Linked DNA regions of Homo sapiens: region 2 is linked to region 1. Evidence: promoter capture Hi-C in 16 types of primary human blood cells and fetal thymus (Javierre and others, 2016). All regions are on one chromosome and are shown on one strand. Each heading gives the region's core, a stretch centred on a gene start or on the middle of the fragment in contact. The rest is flanking DNA. Distances are from core to core; before and after follow the strand shown. Region 1 holds the start of P2RY14 (purinergic receptor P2Y14). Region 2 holds the start of ERICH6-AS1 (ERICH6 antisense RNA 1).

The links. The method cuts DNA at HindIII sites, captures the fragments that hold promoters and counts their contacts. A CHiCAGO score of 5 or more calls a contact.
Region 2: a contact is called between the fragment with the promoter of ERICH6-AS1 here and a fragment that was not itself captured in region 1, in 1 of 17 cell types (total B cells). The highest score is 5.5, in total B cells.

The regions. Positions count from the first base shown.
Region 1 is chr3:151,275,002-151,281,344 of GRCh38, forward strand. The region is part of intron 16 of MED12L (mediator complex subunit 12L); the gene reads left to right. P2RY14 (purinergic receptor P2Y14) reads right to left here and starts at 3,541. Exons shown (of 3, transcript NM_014879.4): 1 at 3,286-3,541. The HindIII fragment of the contact is 1,068 bases long and covers 4,186-5,253 here.
Region 2 is chr3:150,699,653-150,706,474 of GRCh38, forward strand. It overlaps ERICH6-AS1 (ERICH6 antisense RNA 1), which reads left to right and starts at 3,912. Exons shown (of 3, transcript NR_121675.1): 1 at 3,912-4,015. It overlaps ERICH6 (glutamate rich 6), which reads right to left and starts at 4,268. Exons shown (of 14, transcript NM_152394.5): 1 at 3,844-4,268; 2 at 2,469-2,526. The coding sequence starts at 4,246. RefSeq lists enhancers at 4,144-4,223, 4,374-4,463. The HindIII fragment of the contact is 4,487 bases long and covers 1,414-5,900 here.

The DNA.
Region 1 (6,343 bases), core at 3,470-5,969:
CTACCAACCTTTGACCTTAGGGCTCGACTCACTGGGAAGATCACATCAGCAACAGGTGAGTTCTTTCCAGCCAGGTGTCTCTCCCACTATAGAAGGTGGCACATTTCCCATCTGCTTGGTATAAATGGCTCCTAGAGTCTAGAGGCTATAAGTGATGTGATGAAAATAATTGCGTGTGTATGATCCTGGAGAGTATCGAGGATCAGATTTTTTTCCCCAAGTGATCACACCACAAGTGTACAGATCGCTTTGGGCCAACCTCAGAAGCCAACTAACTGATCTTTTCCTCTTTTCTTTGGTATCTTAACCTCAAAAGCAGATGTCATATAATTGGGTAGAAGCCAGCACCCGTCCCTGGCTGTTCTTTTATTTGAATGATGAGGGGTCAGAACATGATATCTAAGGCCTTTGATGCTTTTCAAAAACAACAGATGGGAGGTTTCAGTGAAAAATAAAAAGCTAGCAATTTAATTTATACCGAGTAAAGACAAAAATTTCAAAGGAATCTAATCAGATCTAAAAGCATATGACCAGTATTTCACTTTGACTTTAAAGAACAGGTGGATTGAGAAGCTTTGCTGTGGTAAACTTGGTGTTTCGGTGAATTAATGTAACCAAATGATTACTATAAAAATAGCATTCATTAATTACTAGATTTATCCTTTTTAAGGGTGCTAGGGAGGAAAAGAAAATTCCCTGTAAAGAAGAACCAGAAAATTTAGTAAAGAGGGTTTTGGAGACCTGATTCTCATGCTACTTAGGAAGCTGAGAATTTAAAATAGATTTTACATAGTTTGGTTGTAGGTATTTTTTCTCATTAAGATAGGATATTTTTACTGAAGTTGATTTATCTAGCTGTGCTGCTCAGACTTTTAGGAGGCAATGCATCTTTTAGTATTGCGGGGTGATGGTGGGGAGGCTATGGGTGTAGCACCAGACTTGAAGCTAATTTGAAATCCCAAGTAGTAGACAGCATCTGGCCAATGAAATGCCTTCTTAGCATCCAGTATGAACTGGCAGGGTGATCATATTGATGATCATAATTAATTTATTATACAATCAAGGACACTTTTGAGATAGAAAGGAGGCACTATTTTCAATTATGCCCAGACAACAGGTGAAAACTGGATCTGTCCCAGGACATGGGGTCACCCAAAACTGAATGTGCAACAGAATTACCTGGAGGGCTTGTTAAAAGAGATTGCTGGGCTCCACCCCCATTGTTTCTGATTCTGTAGGTTTGGGGTCAATAATTTGCATGTCTGACAAGCTCACTGGTGATGTTGATTCAGCTGGTATAGTATCTGCACTTTGAGATCCACTGCTCTATCCAAACAAACTTGGCACTCTTGTACTGATATAATTTTCAATTAAAGGAAACACTCCTTATTGTCCATCATCCTCCACTAGACAGCCTTCTGCAGGTGAGGATGCTCATGATGATGGCAGAATATGCTTGTGTTGGTGTCAGCCTACCTCCTGGACTGGTCTGTTTTTGGTATTCTAGAGACTGCTCACACTGGGAGGTTGAAACAGCTCACTTGTGACCGACCTAACTTCTAAGGATATCCTGGGGCCAAATGGAATAAACCTGTGACTTCTGAGTTCATAGAGCCTTAGGCTTAGGGAAGCCTCAACATCTAAATTCACTCAGAAGCACTTTATAGAGTGAACGTTCTTCTAGGGAGCCGTGTTCTTCTTCTGTTCAGCACTTTAGAAGCATCATAGGTGGCCTTGCTCAGGATAGTCACACCCTCTGTACCTGCTTCAACTGTGAAGTGGGCACCGTAATACTTCAGGAAATTATACTTCTTCCTCTGCACCCGGCCCACTTCCCCTGTGTCTTCATGCTTTGAGTACCTTGGAATCTCCCCACTGTTCTTTTGGTTTTATTTTTGTTTGTTTTTGTTTTTGAGACAGGGTCTCACTCTCTCGCCCAGACTGGAGTGCAGTGGCCCGATCTCAGCTCACCACAACCTCTGGCTCCCAGACTCAAGCGATTCTCCTGCCTCAGCCTCCTGAGTACCTGGGATTACAGGCATGCACCACTACCACCCAGCTAATTTTTGTATTTTTAGTGGAGATAGGGGTTTTACCACGTTGGCCAGGCTGGTCTTGAACTCCTGACCAGCCTCTCCTGAGGCCACTCACCTTGGCCTCACAAAGTGCTGGGATTACAGGTGTGAGCCACCATGCCTGGCCTCCTTGTTTTTTTTTTTTCCAGACATGACAATATAGAGTTCATTCATATATACCAATGTGTTAATTGTGTGCACACAATTGTATGCATGTTTGTATATATAGTATTCATAAATTTTACCGAAATATAAAATTCATTGCATGTTTACAAATCATAAAATATGCCATTTTGGTATTTTCCGAGTGCATTGTTTTCTTTTTAACTTAATGGCTAGGTTTTTTTTTAGTGCTAAAACTGATTATCAAGTTTGTATGTTTTAGAAAGATGAATATACAAACTATTTATTTTTTTACTAGTGTGATCTTTGATTCATTTTCTCCGTAGGATTGATTGTCCTTGGTTAACAAAGTATATGTAGACAAGATGGATTGCATGGGCTTGGTTGAATAAGCTGACATTGTGGGTCTGTGCTAATTCTCCTGAATGTAATTTAATTTATAATGTTTAAAGAATTGTAAGTAATTTAGCTGATTAGTCATAGACTATAAATAAGTAGCATATGAACTCAAATATTTGCTATGCCTAGGACAGATATTTCTGTGATTTACAATTTAAAGGCATTTTATTTTAGTAGGTGTTAATGGGGTTAACTTATCCTAATAATGACAAAGATAAAAACTTTTACCTATATAAGTGTATGTACAAGTAAATGCAACTATATATCTGTACACATATGCAATTGCAAACAAAGACATACTGACCTAAGTATTATGCTAATCGATTTTGTAGTTTTGAGAAGCAATTTTAATACACATTTACGAGCTTTTGAAATGTTTGTCCTGGATGAATACCTTTTAAACATTTTCCTTGATATCTCTTCATCACAGATATATTTTGACAGCCACGATTGGAAATCCTAAATCATAAATGATAATATTTCAGTATTGGATCCCCATATTAGCATGGGGAAATATATTAATATACCAATTATAGTTGTCAAACAAAAAGTAACCTACTGAGAAAAATGTGAGTGGCAATGGTTCAGTGTTCCTCAGCTTTGTTGCTGCCCAGCTCAGAAATCTTTTCTGTTCCCATGCACCATTCACATACATGCAAGTCATTTCATGGAAAAGCTGTTTTCTTACCTGCGTCTAGGCCTTCATCTGTGAGAGTCATGCTTCACTCATTTTGAAATACCTCTCATTGTAGGCTCCAAGGTAACACTGTTACAGAGTTCTTGCTCATCTTCAACTACGGATGAAAATCAGGAACTTGACAGAAACCACAAGATAGTGGGTCCCTCTGCTGCTGTTGTCAGATAGAATTTATTGAAGACTGGGACGTGGAAACAAAGAGGAAGGAAGAGACGTTTTAATCTCTGTGGGTGTTAGGCTGACTTCTGAGCTAGTTCCTTTCCTCCAGTAATGCAAAAACAGTCCTGCTTTCTTATTTCTCCTCCTACTTTTCCCCACATCCCTACATCATCTGATGCACAGCCAGGCAAAAACCTGTTTTCTTTTCTAACCTTTGCCATTGTCAAATTCAACATGTGGTATGAGGTGGAGAACTGATGTGTAAGATATGGTTCTTTCTGAAGCACCCTCAGAAAATTGTCAGCAGCTTCACAGTATAACGTGCAGAGATGGGTAGTTGGAGCTACCTGGAAATGCGGAATTAACAGAATAAAGAAGTATTTTGACACCAATGTCGACATATTCTAGATAAGAGGTGTTGCATTGTCATTTTTCCCACATTAATTTTCCCATATTTGAACATTACTGATAAATAGATCACAAGTAGGACTTCAGATAAACTCCTCGTGTGTTAACATTTTGGTGTTTGTGCTGTGTTACTATTTTGAAAGTCTTCATATTTTTAGTTCCTTTCAGGCTCTGTAATATAATTGGTGATGTCCTGCAGTGCTCCACTGTCTTTCCCATTGACTATTAGTGCCATTAGATTTGGAAGTTTTCAGAAGATGGCTACAAAGTCCTCTTCAAAGTGTATAACTCAGAACCAGAAAGAAAGAAGACAAGGGGCTGAAAAGCTTACTTTATAAGGTTCCTGCATTTTAAGTGTATTTACTTAGGCTGTTCCATTGCCAAATTATGGGTAACAACTAGTAAAGTTCAGCTTGCCTTAAAAACATAGCTATACATTTAGTTATAATAATTATAACTGGCTTATGACATGCCCGTTACTATTCTAGTTGCTTTATATGTACTTGCTACGTAGGAGGCAGTGTTCTGGACATTGGAGATGGAGTAGTGACTGACACATACCCAAACAGTTATTTCCCTCATGAAGAGTATTTTCTTACTTTCTGTCTCACAGACTTGCTAGTCACTGTTGATCCTTGGCAAAGACCTGTGAGACACAGAGCTTGTTTAGAGAAGTTCGCCATTTCTCCCTGCCAGAGGGACTCTTCTTCAGACCCCCAGCGGGCCCCAATAGTCCTCACTGATGCTTTGATTGAGGGGCTAAGAATACTGATGTGCATAGAGAGGCTTGTTAGCTTCAGCTGCAGTGAGATCTGGTAGGTAAATAAACTTAAGGACAAGTGGATGTGAGGAGGAGCCGCTAGAGCCTGGTTATTACCAGGGCACATTGCAGAGTCCTCCAGATGTAAACATTTTGCTGATTAAATTGATGATTTGGCAGGAACCGTATCTCTAAGGTGCGACTCTCAAGACTTCCCTGATTTATTGCAGGAGATGCTGTTTACTCTGACAGTCTCAAAAACACCCATTAATTGTTCCGGGTCCCTTTTGTGCTTCTTGACTTCCCCGTGGGGTGTTTCACATAGATGTTATTGAGTATGACTGGGGAGAACATGATAATTTGTTGCTTCTTGACTTCCCCGTGGGGTGTTTCACATAGATGTTATTGAGTATGACTGGGGAGAACATGATAATTTCTTTGACTGGAGCTGCTTGCTTGCCTCTTAATGCCAGGAGTTGCAAAGTCCAAGGCCAAAAGGATAGCCCTACAGGTGGTCCCCTCGTGGCAGGTGGTACAAATGGGTTGGACTCTGTGTAAGACACTTGGGAGTAGAGGGAGTATGGAGAAATGGAAAGCTAAAGGGCCCACCCAGGGGGACAGTTGTGTCTGGAAGCTTGCCAGAGTCATGGGCCTCATCTTGGGATGGGCCAGTGTCTTCAGAACATTAAACGCTGATTTGCATGTACTGTTCTAAACACTCTGTGTGTTTTAGCTTGATTACTCACAATGGCTCCATGAGTAAAGTAGGTCTGTCTACTACTTCTTCCCCACCTTTTTCTTAATAGACAAGGAAACTGAGGCATGGAGATGTTACATCAGGTTGCTGGAGCTGGGCAGATCCTGGAGCCTGTGCACTGCTACTGCCTTTATATGTCTCCTCTGATTTCATTTGTTGGTGTCTAAATCGAATACCTTACAAACCAGTGTAGACCTGATACCCTGTGGGCTAAAACAAAACCTGAGTGTGCACTGTATTGGGCTTGTGAGCAGTCAGCTTGTGACCTCTGTTCTGTGGTTTTATTGGCACGTAGCAGTACAAGGATGGTGAGGGGTGGGTAGGGGGCAGACAGCTAGGCACTTGAAAGGAAAGCTCATCTGGAAAGATTGGATCGTCTCAAATGCACATACTCGTACACTCGATTGAAGCGTACTCTGTGCCTACTAGATCTTTTCACAGCCAAAACACCTGGCAACCCTTGGAGAAGTAACTATTCCTTTTTTTCACAAGTAAGAAAATAGAGCCTCAGAAAATTTAACAGTTGTCTAAGCTAGAAAGTAGCAGGACTGGACTTTGAAGTAGTCTTTAGGTTGTGCTGTACATTTTGTGGATATGCTTAAATCACAGTTTAGCTTGTACACATTTTCCTTTATTAGAATTGGAAGTAAGTATTAATGTTTGAAAAAATATTTTAGCCTGACAATATTTATTCTATCTTCATATGTTTTTGAAATTAGATATTTTAAACTAGGCACGGTGGCTCACGCATGTAATCTCAGCAGTTTGGGAGGCCGAGGCAGGCAGGTCACAAGGTCAGGAGCTCCAGACCAGCCTGACCGACATGGTGAAACCCTATCTCTACCAAAAATACAAAAAAAAAAAAAAAAAAAAAAAAAAAGTTAGCTGGGCATGGTGGAGTTCGCCTGTGATCCCAGCTGCTCAGGAGGCTGAGGCAGGAGAATCACTCGAACCCGGGAGGTGGA
Region 2 (6,822 bases), core at 2,662-5,161, 580 kb before region 1:
AAGGAAAAATAATACGAAGAACAAAGGAGAACTTTAATATATTAGAACAAAGCCCTCAAAGAGATAAAAACAAAAAAAAAAAACACAAAAAACAAACCAAATAATTTTGAACAGCAACAATCAGAGAACAAGCACTGGTTCTTCGAAATTTCAAATATGAATCCTCCAATAAAAAAATTCTGTACAAGGGCTGTATAGTAGCATGTAAACAAACATCAAAAATCCTGAAGATACTGAAAATACAAAGGAAATGTTATTAAAGATGGAGAATCTACCTAAGAGGTCCAACAGCATCTAGGAGGAGTTCTGAAGAAAAGAAGAAAAGGGGAGGAAGTAATTATATATCAGAATGGTCTGAGGATAAGACTGGTGAGGCAGTATTGGCTACTAGGAGGCAAAGAAGCAATGTCTTCAGATCTCTGAGGGAAATTTTTTTTTTTGAGATGGAGTCCCGCTCTGTTGCCCAGGCTGGAGTGCAGTGGTGCGATCTTGGCTCACTGCAAGCACTTCCTCCAAGGTTCACACCATTCTCCTGCCTCAGCCTCCAGAGTAGCTGGGACTATAGGCGTCCGCCACCATGCCCGGCTAATTTTTTTTTTTTTTTTTTTTTTTTTGTATTTTTAGTAGAGACGAGGTTTCACCATGTGAAATGGTTTTAAATCTCTTCTTTTTGGCAGGTTTTTATTTATTTTTTTATTAACAAGTCAAGTACAAGGGCAAAATGAAGAAATTTCAAAGCAGGCAAGAACTCAGAAATTTGACTATCCGTGAGACCTATATAAAAAATTCACCTGAGGAGTTTCTCCAGCAAAAGGAAAAGCAACAAAAGAAAGAAGACAATATGGGAACCAATAAAGTGTGGCTGGTGAGCCAACCCAGAAAAACTGTAGACAGAACAACAGAGAGTCAAAAAGTTTATTTTATTATTATTATTTTTTATTTATTTTTTGAGATGAAGTCTCACTCTATTGCCCAAGCTGGAGTGCAGTGGTATGATCTCGGCTCACTGCAACCTCCACCTCCTGGGTTCAAGCGATTCTCCTGCCTCAGCCTCCCAAGTAGCTGGGAATACAGGCACACGCCACCATGCCCGGCTAATTTTTGTATTTTTAGTAGAGACAGGGCTTCACTATGTTGGCCAGGCTGGTCTTGAACTCCTGACCTCGTGATCTGCCCACCTCAGCCTCCCAAAGTGCTGGGATTACAGGTGTGAGCCACTGCATCTGGCAAAAACTTTACTTTTTAAGAGACAAGTTTTATAGACATAGGATTATATTTTCTTGTCCATAGATTCAATCATATTACTGGTTTGTCAACATAGAAGTGTTAGTATTGTTTGTTGGTTTTCAATTTTTAGAAACAACCCCAGAGCACTTTAATTATAATTAACAAACCATAATACAAGCATAATAAAGCTTGGAAAAGTAATATAACTTTATGTAAATATACACTGCATTTTAATATAATTTATCATTTCATATAGTTTGTTGTTAATTGGGAAAAAAGAGGAGAGAAGAAAGATGGAAGGAGGAAGTGCATTAACATGTTAATTTTTCATTATAGTCAATAGATACTAAAATTGATGAATCAAGAAGTAGAGGTTTAAATACCTCGAAGTCCTAAATGTTAGAAAAACTAAAAATAATATAACTACCAAAGTGGAGAGGTGGGAATTCAATACACATGTCAGAAATTGATAAACCAAGAAATGAAAATGTCATTTTAAATAATGGAAACAAAACTGAAGGTGAGTGGGAGTGGGGGTGAAGAAGGGCATGAGATTTTCATTTTTATACCTTTGTGTAGTTTGATTTTTTTAACCACATGTATACATTATCTTTATTACAAATTGAATTAAAAGGATAACTAAAAACATGTAAGTGAGACAGAACAATTCTCCTTAGACTTAAGAATTCAAAAGTTGCTTACAAAAGCAAAGTTAGGGTAACTAATAATTCAAGATCATTGACTCAGGTTTGGTGTGAGATTTCAGGGAATATTTACAAAGATGTTCCAGAAGGCATTTCACTGGTATCTTCTTACTATAGTTAAAGTGCCTGAAGGCTAATAGCAATAACAAGAAAAAGAAGAGAGAGAGAGGAAAAAGGAAAAGCTATTATTTCCACTCTCTTCCACAAAAGGCGTCCCTGGTCACTCTTGCATTTAGCCAATAAAAGCTATATTCAAAATTCTCAAGCACTTACAATTGCACACATGGCATATATAGTTATTCTTTCATGTTACATTGATAAGTGGACATGTAATCTCTAGAGCTAGGTAATAAGCTGGGGATAAGTGGGAACCTTTATCTCTTTCAAAGTGTCTACCAGTGTATATTTAAAAAAAACTTTTTAAAATAAGTAAGTCACAAATGCCCTGGATTATTTTACTCTACTTCCTAACATGTTTATCCAAAAGGTAAACATTATTGGGTTCAAAAAATGTGAAATTTGAAAACATTTTCTTACCTATCTATACTCATTTCAGACATGTCTTTCCTAAATGTCTGAAATATTTTAGGGAAACCTGTTGAATGAAACATTTAAAAATCAGCTATTCCCTCTAAATCAAAAGGTCAATTCTACCCCCCCCAGGAACACATGGCAATGTCTGGAGACTTTTTTTTTTTTTTTTTTTTTTTTGAGACGGAGTCTCGCTCTGTCGCCTAGGCTGGAGTGCAATGGCGCGATCTTGGCTCACTGCAAGCTCCACCTCCCGGGTTCACGCTATTCTCCTGCCTCAGCCTCCCAAGTAGCTGGGACTACAGGCGCACGCCGCCACGCCCGGCTAATTTTTTGTATTTTTAGTAGAGACGGGGTTTCACCATGTTAGCCAGAATGGTCTCGATCTCCCGACCTCGTGATCTGCCCGCCTAGGCCTCCCAAAGTGCTGGGATCACAGGCGTGAGCCACCGCGCCCGGCCTGGAGACATTTTTGATCATCGCAAGGATGTGTGCTTCTAGCACAGCCACGGGTAGAGGACAGGGATGCTGCCAAATATCCTGTAATTCACAGGACAGTCCCCAATCCTCCCCAACAAAGAATTATCCAGACCAAAATGTCAACACTAGAGCTTGAGAAGCCTACTCTAGAAGACTTCTCTGCTTCTTTTTTCAAGGAAGTGACTGGAGTGGCTTCAGCACAGGATGTTAAACACAAAAGAGAGTTGTTTTTTTTTTTTGCAGGACTGTTTCAGTAGTACAGCACCCTTAAGGCACTTCTCTGGAAATAATATGAGTGTGTGTGTGTGTGTGTGTGTGTGTCTGTGAGAGAGAGAGAGAGGGAGAGAGAAAGAGAGGGGGAGGGGAGAGGGAGGGGAGGAAGAGGGAGGGGAGGGGGAACAGAGAGAGAGAGAGAGAGAGATGTCACGGTGTGAATGCACGCAAAAATGTTATAAAAATGAGCACTCCCAGCAGCCTGGGCAACATAGTGAGACGCCAGATTAGCTGGGTGTGGTGGCGTGTGCCTGTAGTTCCAGTTACTCGAGAGGCTGCGGTGGGAGGCTTGAGCCCAGGAGGTCGAGGCTGCAGCCACTGCACTCCAGCCTGGGCGACAGAGCGAGACTCTTGTCTAAAAAAAAAAAAGCACTTCATACAGCCATGCCCAAGTTCAACTTTTATGGTGTTTCGCCTATATCCTAAATCGTGCCTCATCACAACAGCTCAGCCAAGGGTTCAGTGTCTCTGACAAGGGCGTGAGAGAGATTAGGTGTGTGGAATGGTGCATGCATTTAGAAATCAGGCACGACGCGCAGGTCGACGAAGGCACCACCCAGGAGTGGGTGGACCAGGTGCCCCCTGGAGACGAGAAACCCTCGAGGAAGGGGTGGGTCGGGGGCGGTACTTTTATGCGAGGAGGTGCTGGAGGGTGGGCTTGCGCTCGGCGTTTCAGTGCTGGTCGCGCTCTGGCTGGGCACGAACGTAGAGGTCAGGCTAGGGCTGACGATGCTGGCTAAGCGGGGGCGCACGTCTGGGAAGTCGTCGTCGTAGTCACCGATGTCCGTGACCTTCCAGAGGTACTCTTCGCTGAACGTCTCAGGGGCCTCCAACTCCTGCTCTTCCCCCACCAACTCCTCCTCCACCACCTCCTCCTCCTCCTCCTCCACCTCTTCCTCCTCCTCCTCCACCTCTTCCTCCTCCTCCTCCACCTCTTCCTCCTCCTCCTCCTCCTCTAACTCCTCCTCTGACTCCTTCTGGTCCTTCTTCCCCGGGTCTCCGAAGCCGCTAGGCGAGCGCAAGTGGGCCATGGCTGGCGGGAGGCGGGATTACAGCCAGCTCTTTGGCCGCGGCCCCGGTCGGCTCTCGCGAGCGCGAGCCTCTGTTGTGCGTTGGTCTCCCCGGGCAACTGCTTGCCCTGCGCCACCGAGCCTCCCGGATTTAAAGCGGCAGGAGCTGGTTAGCCGGATAGAATGTGGGTGCCGAGGGCCGGTGGGGGCCACCGCAGACTTCTTTCTGTCCCTGCTCTTCAGCGTCTCTGAAACCCCTGGCAGCCTGCGGAGAAACGATCTTTTCTTCGTCTCTCAGCTTATTTGGGGCCTTTTTTTTTTTTTTTAACTTGGGTGGAGGAAGTGGCTTCTAGCGACGGACACACACGGTGCCATTTGGTATTGCGGATGCTGGAGTCTGGTTATTGAGTAGACAGATGCTTGCTGGAACGTCCAGTGAAACTTTATTTACAAAATCAGGCGCCAGCCCTTGGGCCCTCGTTTGCGGATATTTTTAAAATAGCTTTAAATATTAATAAGCGTATTAAAATTGCCTTAAATGTTAGTTATCTTAAATATTGTTAGATTAATATTAATTAATCTTGATTGGCGACATTTTTAGCGTCCCATAAATTTTGCTCCTTGCTGTGATCTGGGTCCTGCTTCTTACTTGGCCCATCTATCCATCCTGGAGTAGAAAAGTCCTGAAGCATCTGGCCACCTAGGTACCACCTGCGTCCTTCTGGGACTTTGTATTTACTTACATTTTTGTAAAATATATACATTTTTTATTTTTGAGAGACAGGATGTCACTCTGTCACCCAGGCTGGAGTGCAGTGGCGGCATCATGGTTCACTTCAGCCCTGAACTCTTGGGCTCCAGTGATCCTCCCACCTCGGTCTCCCAAGTGGCAAGGACAACAAATGTGTGTCACCACGCCTGGCCAATTTTATATATTATATTATATTATATTATATTATATTATATTATATTATATTATATTATATTTATTTTGAGACGGAGTCTCGCTCTGTCACCCAGGCTGGAGTGCAGTGGCACCATATCGGCTCCCTGCAACCTCAGCCTCCTGGGTTCAAGCAATTCTCCTGCCTCAGCCTCCCGAGTAGCTGGGACTACAGGCACGTGCCACCACGCCTGGCTAATTTTTTGCATTTTCAGTAGAGATGGGGTTTCACCGTGTTAGCCAGGATGGTCTCGATCTCCTGACCTCGTGATCTGCCTGCCTCAGCCTCCCAAAGTGCTGGGATTACAGGCGTGAGCCACAGTGCCTGGCCTGTATTATATTTATTTTGAGACAGGGTCTTACCCTGTCGCTCAGGCTGGAGTGCAGTGGTGCTATCTCAGCTCACCGCAACCTCCTCCTCCCGGCTCAAGCTGATCCTCCCGCCTCAGCCTCCCGAGTATCTGGGACTACTTTTTGTAGAGATGGCGTCTTGCTATGTTGCCCAGGCTGGTCTCAAACTCTCGGTCTCAAGCTCCTGGGCTCAAGAGATCCTCCCATCTGGGCCTCCCAAAGTTCTTAGGATTACAGACGTGAGCTACTGTGCCTGGCTAGGGAATATTTTTGAAAGTAGAGTTCTTGCAGGCTAAAGGAGCAGGCAGCACAGATGAGAGGAGACATCTGAGTTGCTTTAAAAGGAAGGGCAAAATGTGGTGACCAGAGAGGAAAGTGAAAAGCTTTCCAGCAGGCTCACGGCAGGAAAGGAGGGTCAGGACAGGGAACTATGTGTACAGATATTGAGGTACAAATAAGGTAAGTGTAATTTAAAAAGAGAAAATAAGAAAAAGCTCATTTCTTTTCTGGACAATACTAACAGTTTGATGCTGGAAGCTATCTTAGAAGTTAGGAAATTCAACCAGGGTCCTCAGAGAGCAGACTGGAAGTCAGGATGTGGGGATGAGACACGGGGCTGGCAGACAGCAAGGGTGACAGTGCTTGTGCTTACTCCGCTTGTGCCTGCTGTAGCTCAGTTCTGTGACTGCCCTGGCATTTTCTCAATTGTGTGGTGAATTAATTTGTTTAAGTACTCCTTGTTTAGACCCTCTATTTAAGACCTTTTTTGAACATTTTATGGAATCTCCTTCCCTTGGATCTACTTACTACGGAAAGAACAGTCCCTTATTTTCTCATGAGTTGATGCCACTCTTGTTTTGGCCGTTCAGAGATAATATGATGCTGGGTCAGTTTATATTTTCCCCTTCTCCATTCCTGGTGTCTAGCTTGACTCAGGAACTTGAGATTTGAGAACCAGGCACCAGCCCTGACTAACTGTGACTTTGGGGTTACTGAGCCTCAGTTTCTTGGTGTGTTAAATGGAAATATCAGTACCTTTCCACTTAATTTATGGGGCTATTTTGAGATAAAATTTAATTATTGTTTATTTTCTTCTTCTTTTTTTTTTTTCCTAAGATGGCATCTCAATGTGTTACCCAGGCTGGTCTTGAACTCCTGGACTCAATCCTCCTACCTTGGCCTCCCAAAGTGCTGGGATTATAGGTGTGAGTCATCCTGTCTGGCCTATTTTCTGAGGACTGATTTTGTATTTTATTATTATTATTTTAGGACCACATAACTCTGTTTAGAAAATGTTTCTAAT